Linked DNA regions of Homo sapiens: all the other regions are linked to region 1. Evidence: promoter capture Hi-C in 16 types of primary human blood cells and fetal thymus (Javierre and others, 2016). All regions are on one chromosome and are shown on one strand. The core of a region is centred on a gene start or on the middle of the fragment in contact, and the rest is flanking DNA. Distances in the headings are between cores, read along the strand shown.

What was found. The method cuts DNA at HindIII sites, captures the fragments that hold promoters and counts their contacts. A CHiCAGO score of 5 or more calls a contact.
Region 2: a fragment that was not itself captured here is called in contact with the fragment with the promoter of MSL2 in region 1 in 7 of 17 cell types (M1 macrophages, M2 macrophages, naive CD8 T cells and 4 more); the score reaches 7.8 in M1 macrophages.
Region 3: a contact is called between the fragment with the promoter of MRAS here and the fragment with the promoter of MSL2 in region 1, in 2 of 17 cell types (M0 macrophages and M2 macrophages). The highest score is 6.0, in M0 macrophages.

The regions. Positions count from the first base shown.
Region 1 is chr3:136,195,083-136,197,782 of GRCh38, reverse strand. It overlaps MSL2 (MSL complex subunit 2), which reads left to right and starts at 1,448. Exons shown (of 2, transcript NM_018133.4): 1 at 1,448-2,700. The coding sequence starts at 2,670. RefSeq lists enhancers at 901-1,200, 1,371-1,420, 998-1,744, 2,371-2,440, 1,745-2,491 and 2 more and a silencer at 1,641-2,030. The HindIII fragment of the contact is 2,546 bases long and covers 368-2,700 here.
Region 2 is chr3:138,221,794-138,224,493 of GRCh38, reverse strand. ARMC8 (armadillo repeat containing 8) reads right to left here. Exons shown (of 22, transcript NM_001363941.2): 3 at 2,497-2,568; 4 at 963-1,105; 5 at 761-858. Among named protein-coding and RNA genes, the nearest start is that of ARMC8, 36 kb to the right of the region's middle. The HindIII fragment of the contact is 1,165 bases long and covers 828-1,992 here.
Region 3 is chr3:138,347,304-138,350,003 of GRCh38, reverse strand. MRAS (muscle RAS oncogene homolog) reads right to left here and starts at 1,425. Exons shown (of 6, transcript NM_001085049.3): 1 at 1,237-1,425. RefSeq lists an enhancer at 958-1,913. The HindIII fragment of the contact is 4,446 bases long and covers 1-2,700 here.

The DNA of each region.
Region 1 (2,700 bases), core at 199-2,698:
ATGTGTTCCCTTGATATCTTAACTATTCCTACTCACCTCAAGTGGCAGCTTGTAACTAACACGTACCACATTTACATGTTCCATATACGTGCCTGTGTACATATGTAACATGTGCCACAATAGATTTACACGCATCATAATTTTCACTTTGCAAACGTATAGAGTACCTACTGTGCATGAAAAATTATGCTGAGGAGCTTTGGTGTGTACAGAGATAAGAAATGCTTCCTATGGCCTGTTACTATTTGTGCTACTCAAAAAAAGGTTTTGTACTTTGAGATGGGAGGGAAGTCATCTACTAAGTCAGGCTTTTGTTTATTTATATCCCAGTGCCCTTGATCTCCTGCAAAAACAAAAGGCAAAAGCTTGTTTTAAAAAACAAAACATTTGCAAGGATTTGGGTTTGTTCTAGAGCAAGATCACGCATTCTTCAAGACATCTGTTCACACAGAAGAGCTAGGTCTTTTAAAAAAGCTAGGTCTTTCAAAAAAAAAAAAAAGGAGTTCGTTTTGTTTTTAAAACAGGACTCTGTTCCGGTGAGAGCTCGGTGAAGTCCTGATCGGCACCCATGAAGGTGAGGCCGCACGAGTCCAAGGGCCAGAGGCCGTGGGAACAGCGCGGGTCCGACGGGTAGGAGGGGGCAGTGGGTTCGAGCCTCCACGCTTACATACAGCCTGCCAGGGCCTTAGAGCCCTCTGACTGCGAACCACCGCAGAGAGGTGCGGAACGCGGCCCCGACCCGGCAAAAGCCGTCCGCACGCCTGCTGGGCGCGCAGCCACGTTGACTACTGCAGCCTTCCCGGCTCGGCGAGAGCCTGCCAGCCAGCCGAGGCTGCGCCCTTTCCGCGGTCGGGATGAGCGGTTCCAGGAGAAAGGCCGCGAGGGCGGGGCTTGGGGCCTGGCGCGGCTATTTCCTCACACCGCGGTCAGTCAGGACGAGAGGCCGCGTTCAGGCCAGTGCAGAGCGCCACATGGCGCTACCAAGTCGGGCCCCGGCGTTGGCGGGCACAGAAGCAGTGTAATGCGGGAAGCCTGCAGCCCACACTGGGGAAGGATGTGCCAGCTAACGAATGTTTCACCACAGCCCACATGCCTGGGAGAGGGAATTTGAGAGCACGTGGGGGAGGGGCGAAGAGAGCTGTCGGCTCGCAGAGAGCATGCTCCATTCTGAGAGTCGAAGTGGAGAGCCAGGCATGCGCAGTGAGCCCAGGGTGGGTTGGCAGCGGTGAGGGACTGGCGCGAGCAGGCTGATGTGTTTATCCGGTTTTCTGGGTGGGCGGTCAAAGCGCACGCGGAAGGGCGAAAGGCGGCGGAGCTAGGTAGCAGCTTGCGCATGCGTGGAGTGAGCCGGTAGCTCTGGGAGGCTGTGGAGGGGGTTGTTAGAGGAGAAGCAAGGGAAAAGGGAAGCGAAGGGAGAGGAAAGGGGGGAGGGGTGAGAGTGTGCTCTGCGCATGCGTGCGAGCGCTAGCGACGACGGCGGCGGGGGAGTCTCGGGGATGACAGTGGCTTTGCCCGTTGGGGTAACGGTCGTCGTCGCCGCCAGCAGAGGCCTGAGGCGCCACACAGCCCGCGGGATCCATTAAGGCCGCAGCAGCCCGGGCCCTACCGAGCTGGAGTGGCGCGTGGAGTCGGGGTGAGGGCGGCGAGGCACGGGGGAGGGGCCTGCGGCGGGGCCTTGCTGTGTGCGCTGGGCGGCGGCGGGGCCTGGCGGTGTGAGCGCTTGCCTTCCGCGGCCGGGGAGTGCTGAGGGCGGCGGCGGCCGTCGTGCTCGGCGGAGGAGTCGTCTGTGTGTGTGGCGCCGAAAAAATGGCCGGGCAGTGAGGGGGCGGCGCTTGAGTCTGGTGACCCCGGAGTGTGCGACTGAGGCGCGAGGGGCGCCGCCGCGGCCCGGCCGGGCTTGCCCCCCGCCCCCTCCCGCCCGCCGGCGGCGGCCCGCGCACTTCCTCCCCGGCCTTCCCCTCCGGGTTGAGGACTCCCGCCCGCCTCGCCACCTCGGGGAACTGCGGGCTGCAACCCACGGGGCGGAGAGCCAGGGCGCAGTCTGGGCCCCGCGTCCGATATGGAGAGCGCGGCGGCGGCGTCCGCCAGCCGCAACATCAACCTTCGTCGCCGCCGCGGCGTCTTGCACTAGATCCGGGAAGCCGCTGCCCGACCGTCGTCCTTGCCGTCGCCGCCGCCTCCGCGCCCTGTACTGGGATGGAGTAAGAGGCCCTGCAGCCCGGGAGAAGCGTGCCGCGCCTCAGACGGGGCCGGGGCCTGCTCCCGCGCCTGCCAGCTCGACTTGAGGAGGCGCCTCCGTGTCCGGAGATGGAGCTCGAGTGCAGGCCGCCTGCCGAGCCGCGGGGCTAGACTGAGCTCCGAGTCCCGCCCCGAGCGCCCAAGCCGCCGCGTTCTGCGCTCTGTGGTCGCTCCGGACGAACTCGAACGCTGGTTTCTCTCTCATATTTTTGGTCTGGAAGTCTCAGGGACGGAGGGGCGCCAAGGCCCCATGTGTGGGAGGATTGTTTCAGCTCCACAAACTTGCACGGATTTTGGTTACTTGTTTGGCCAATGGTTCGGCTCTGATTTCTTCCGAATTGTTGCAAATTCGCCATCGTTCCCTGGCTGCTTACTAAGTTGGATCCGGAATTTCTTTTCAACCGGGAGCCATTGGTGTCGAAGTGTCTGCAATGAACCCCGTGAATGCTACTGCTCTCTACA
Region 2 (2,700 bases), core at 161-2,660, 2.0 Mb before region 1:
ACAGGCGTGAGCCACTGTACCCAGCGGAGACTTTTATCATTTTTTATTTTTAGTGAGAGGATCTCATTCTGTCACCTAGGCTGAGGTGCAGGGGCACCATCATAGCTTAGTATAACCTCAAACTCCTAGGCTCAAGCAATCCTTCCACTGCAGTCTCATGAGCTAGGACTATAGGCATGAGCCATTGCACCAGGCTAATTTATTTTTATTTTTTTCTTGTAGAGATGGAGTCTTGTTGTCGGGCGCAGTGGCTCACACCTGTAATCCCAGCACTTTGGGAGGCCGAGGCGGGTGGATCACAAGGTCAGGAGTTCAAGACCAGCCTGGCCAAGATGGTGAAACCCTATCTCTCCTAAAAATACAAAAAATTAGCCGGGTGTGGTGGCACGCGCCTGTAATCCAAGCTACTCCAGACGCTGAGGCAGAGAAATGCTTAAACCTGGCAGGGTGAAGGTTGCAGTGAGCCGAGATCGCGCCACTGCACTCTAGCCTGGGTGACAGAGCAAGACTCCACCTCAAAAAAAAAAAAAAAAAAAGAGATGGAGTCTTGTTATGTCACTCTGGTTGATCTTGAACTCCTGGCCTCAAGCAATCCTCCCACCTCAGCCTCCCAAAGCACTGGGATTACTGGTGTGAGCCACCATGACCAACTGAGACTTTTTTACATAACACAGTTATGATGAGTCTGAAGATGCTAAGCAAATTAGGAGTAGGCTGTTGGTGAAATGTAACTAATGTCTCAAATACATCTAAAACTCACTGTATACAGTAGCTCCTCTGGAGTGACAGGACTGGTGAAGATGGTACGCAGGCATCGGAGGCAAGCTTCAATAAACTTCAGGTCTGGGGACAGTAGTCCTATTAACAGAAATGAGATTTAGGACTAATCCTTTCAACCAGTATTTAAAGCACTGCAAACTGATTCTTAACCTTAATTGAGCAAAAATGGCTTCCCTACATACCTTGCAATAAGGCAGGGATAATATGGCAGTCCAGTAGAGACTTGACATTGTTTTCAGTACCCATAGCAAGACTTCCCAACACCACTGCACATTCAGTTTTCAGCTCTGTGCTTGAGGTTTCTTGCTGAAGCAAGTACAACAATCTAAAAAGAAGGAACTTAATAAACGAAGAGACTAAAAAATTTAAACAAGACTCAATGTGACCAAAAAAGGCTGTGCAGTCCACATACTAAAAATATGGTTGGCTGAGTTTATATGAATCCAATGGTCATTTGTTTATCTCATCTGCTAATTAAAGAAACATCTGGAAAAAAAATCTAGAAGAGGTTTTGAAAAAAAGAACTATCATATTCTTAGAGTTTATAAAAAGTGTAAATCTGAAAGTTGTCCACAGATAGTCTCTGTAGAAACAGCGTCATCAGAGTCCATGTCATCTACCACTTCCTGCTGGGTCTCCAAAATATGAAGACTCTCAAATGCCATGTGCTGCCAGATCTTAAACTCAAACTAGAAATGCTACTGCTCTGAATCCAGAGCAGTGGTGCAGTTTGTAGATATCGAGCCTATAGGGAATATTCAGAGCCCTTGTGCAGCTCCTCAAGCAAAGGTAGTTTCTTCTTTCTCCAGCTCTCTCATTTGGAAAAGGAAGAGATCCTCTCATTTCCACTCCAGCCCAGCTTGCCAAACAAATACTCCCCAAACCCTAACCTTCCTCCACTTATAACCATCTACCTTATGTTCTAAGACAGGACCCTCATGCTCCATAAAGCACTATTTATATATACCAAACATAAATCCCCTAAGAAAGGCTGCTGACAGCTTTATAGTTACTAAAGTATATGTTTGAGGTTGGTGAGTTAAAACACTTAAACCATTAATTCTGTATCAAAACCAGAAAATAAGGAGAAAAAAACAAAATAATAAATAATTCTGAATGAAAAGCTAATAGCAATTGCACAGAAAACTTAGCTCTGAGGAGCAAAAGTAAAGAGGAAGTTATGTAACTGTCATTGCCTGCCTAAAGGAAGCTTATTAGGTCATCAAAAGAAGAAATTAAACTTCCTAAACTTCTTACGTTAACTTAAAAAACAGCAAGTTGTAAAAATCAGAAGTTAAAAAATGAAACTGGATTAAAAATCAAGCAGGGTTTTTTTCCTTTAAATTCAAAAAGGTCTTAAGGCTCCTAATAAATTACCCACTCACACAAAAAACTGCCAAGGCTCTAAGGAAATGGAGAAGAAAGTATCAGGCTGTTGTACATTGCATATGTACTTTACGAACCCTTTTGTCATCAGGTCAAAGGTCTTCCTGAGTTTCCAAAATGTATTAACACATTCACTTCTTACTACATTCTCTGTTACTTTATAATTTTTTTCCTTAAAGATAGTTTAAATACTTACATTTATTTTTAAAAATAGGATTTATTTTAAGAATTAGACAGACAATACAGGAAAAATGGGTTCTATAATTGAGAGTAAGAAATACATTAGAAACTAGTATGAATGGCAAGAAAGGGGTGAGACAGCAAACATACCTTGGAACAGCTCCTAAAACAATGAGATTGGCTTTCTGCTTGTTGTTTCCAATTACAGCATTTTTCATGTCTCTGAATTAAGGGGAAGAAAAAATAAAGTATGTTGAGACAGCACTGAAGAAAAATCAAAGATCATTCTACTTCATTATGCAATATCTTAGATTTGACAAAGTAAAAGCACTAACCTTTTTTCACCTAAAGTAC
Region 3 (2,700 bases), core at 176-2,675, 2.2 Mb before region 1:
CCACGTGGCCAAAAGCATGGACTTCAGATATGATCTTGGGCAAGCTGTTGGCTCTTTTTCACCCCAGTTCCTCCATCCTTTACAATAAACAAAATCCTTCTGGAGGTGTCTTGTCAAGAGGTGTCTTGTCAAATGATGAGCAAATCCACTTCAAGTGCCTGGTCTTTGGAAGCCCTGTTGGTTGCTGTTATTACAGTGGAGTTTCAGAGCTCTTAAAGTCATATCTCCATCTTACTTCTGCTGCCAGACAAACCTCTGGAGGCCACGATTCCGAGCCTTGTCAGCCACCCTCTCTGGTCAGGTCCAGGACAGAGTGAGTCCTAGAGGAGCAAGGCCAGGGAGGTTCCACACCATCAGGGGCCATTGGGGAGTAGGGGCAATGGCAGAGCTCTATGATCAAGGCCCCAGTGGCCTTGATGGACTCTGTCCACCTCTCCAGACTCCACTTTGCCCCAGGCCAGAACAGACCTCAGCTCTAGCCAGAGTCTAACTGGGTGTCCAGTGTATACGCTGCGGCCAGCCAGACATTAACTCCTCTAGGCGGCCTTCTCTCACCTCCCACTCTGCAGTAGGGACCCCTAGGGGCTCCCACAACCCCTGGGCTTACCGAATCTCAGCACTTACCACACTGGCTTGTCACTTTGTGCTCTTGTCTTCCCCGCAGGGCAGGACTGGCACCGTGTCTGATGCCTCAGCCAGATCAGTTCAATGCATGAGCCCAGGCCCTAGTTGTGACCACAGCTCCAGCTCCCCAAACCTCCGGGGGCAGTGAAGGGTTGTTTATGAAGCAGGCTGCGTTTTATTATTCAGATGAATTTGTCAACTCCCTGGCGGATCCCTCCCCTCGTTAACGCCATCTTAAGGCGGGGGGGTAAAGAGTCCCCCACCCACCCACCCATCCCCCGCCGCCCCGTCCTGCCGCCCATCTATCCACCGGGTTCTCGCCCAGGCAGCCAAGGAACTGTAATTACCATGAAAGGGTCTCTCTGAGCGGCGCGCAGGCCCTCCCCACTGGGGTCTTGGTCGTGGCCGATTTCACGAACGCACACCGTTACGCGGGAGCCCGCGATGGGGGCAAAACGCCACGCACAGCCGGTCCCAGGGCGCACCCCGCAAGCGGAGAGCGCGGCCGAGCCCGGAGGGCGGCCACACCTCCCGCCCCGGAACAAAGCGACGGCCGGGGCGAGAGGCGGCGCGGCCGGGCCCCCTCCCCTCCAAGGCCGCCCGACCACTCACCGCGCGCTCCAGCCCCGGCTCGGCTACGGCACTCAGGCCGCCCCCTCCTAGCCTGCGCCGGTGAGGAGGCAGCGTCGCGCCCGCCGGGCCCCGCGGCCGCCGGACTGACGGCTCCCCGCCAGCCGGCCACTCCGGTCCGTCCCCGCCCCGGCGCCTCCTTAAAGCGACCGCGCCGCCAGCGTGCGCCCCGAGCGCCTAGCGCGCCGCGCATTCCTTATATTGCCACAGCGCCTGCTAAAAATAGAGCGCCGCTGCGGGCGCGCCAGTGGGGAGCCCGGGCCGGGTGCCTCGACCCTGTCGCCCCCGCGTGCACCCCGGCCCCCAGGACGCGCGCCTACGAAGTCCAGCCCACCCGCGCCGAGTCCCCTGGGCCCGGCAGGGCGCGCTAGAGCGCCAGGGGCTGGGGTCGGCGCCGCAGCCTCTCCCGCGGCCCAGCACTTACCCGGGTCAGATCCGTGGTGCCGGGGAGCTGGCTTTAAGGTGGACGCCGAGTGGGAATTCGACTCGGCCTCTTTAAGAGCCTCTGCGCTCCAACCTTTAAATCTCCGCTCCGGCCGGGCCAACTTCTGAGCCTAGGGACGCCTCCCCAGTCCTAGGCGAACCTCCGCCGCCACCTTAGCTGCATTCCCTTCGAATCCTGAGACGTCTTTCTTCCAGATCATGCCCCAGCGTCTCTCCCCGCAGGCCTTCTGGGTGCACCGTTCCAGGGCCCAAACTTCGTTGGGATGGATGCGACGGGGACAGGCGACACTCGCGCACCATTTCATTGTTTCAGTTCCGCTAACTCCTCTCCAGCGGCGTCATTTTCCCCCCGTTAAAAAAATAAAGATATAATTCAACACCATAAAATTCCACCTTTTGAAGTGTACAATTCAAGCCGGGCGCGGTGGCTCACGCCTGTAATCCTAACACTTTGGGAGGCCGAGGCGGGTGAATCGCCTGAGGTCAGGAGTTCAAGACCAGCCTAGGCAACATGGTGAAACCCCGTCTCTACTAAAAATACAAAAGTCAACCCGGCATGGCGGCACGTGCCTGTGATCTCATCTACTCGGGAGGCTGAGGCAGGAGAATCACGTGAACCCGGGAGGCAGAGGTTGTAGTGAGCCGAGATTGCGCTACTGCACTCTAGCCTGGGCAACAGAGTGAGACGCTGTCTCAAAAAAAAAAAAGTGTACGATTCAGTGGTGTTTAGCATATTCACAAAGTTTTGCAACCATCACCATGAGCTAATTCCAGAACATTTTCACCACTTCCCACTCCCCTCCCCTGCCCCTCACAAAAAGAACTACCCGTTAGCAGTCACTCCTCATTCACCCCTTTCCTCCGCCTCTGGGAACCACTAATCTACTTTCAATCTCTATGGATTTCCCTATTCAGGACATTTTCTATAAACGGAATCATACAACATGTGGCCTTTTGTGACTATGACTAGCTTCTTTCAGTAACCAATGTTTAATGATCTAT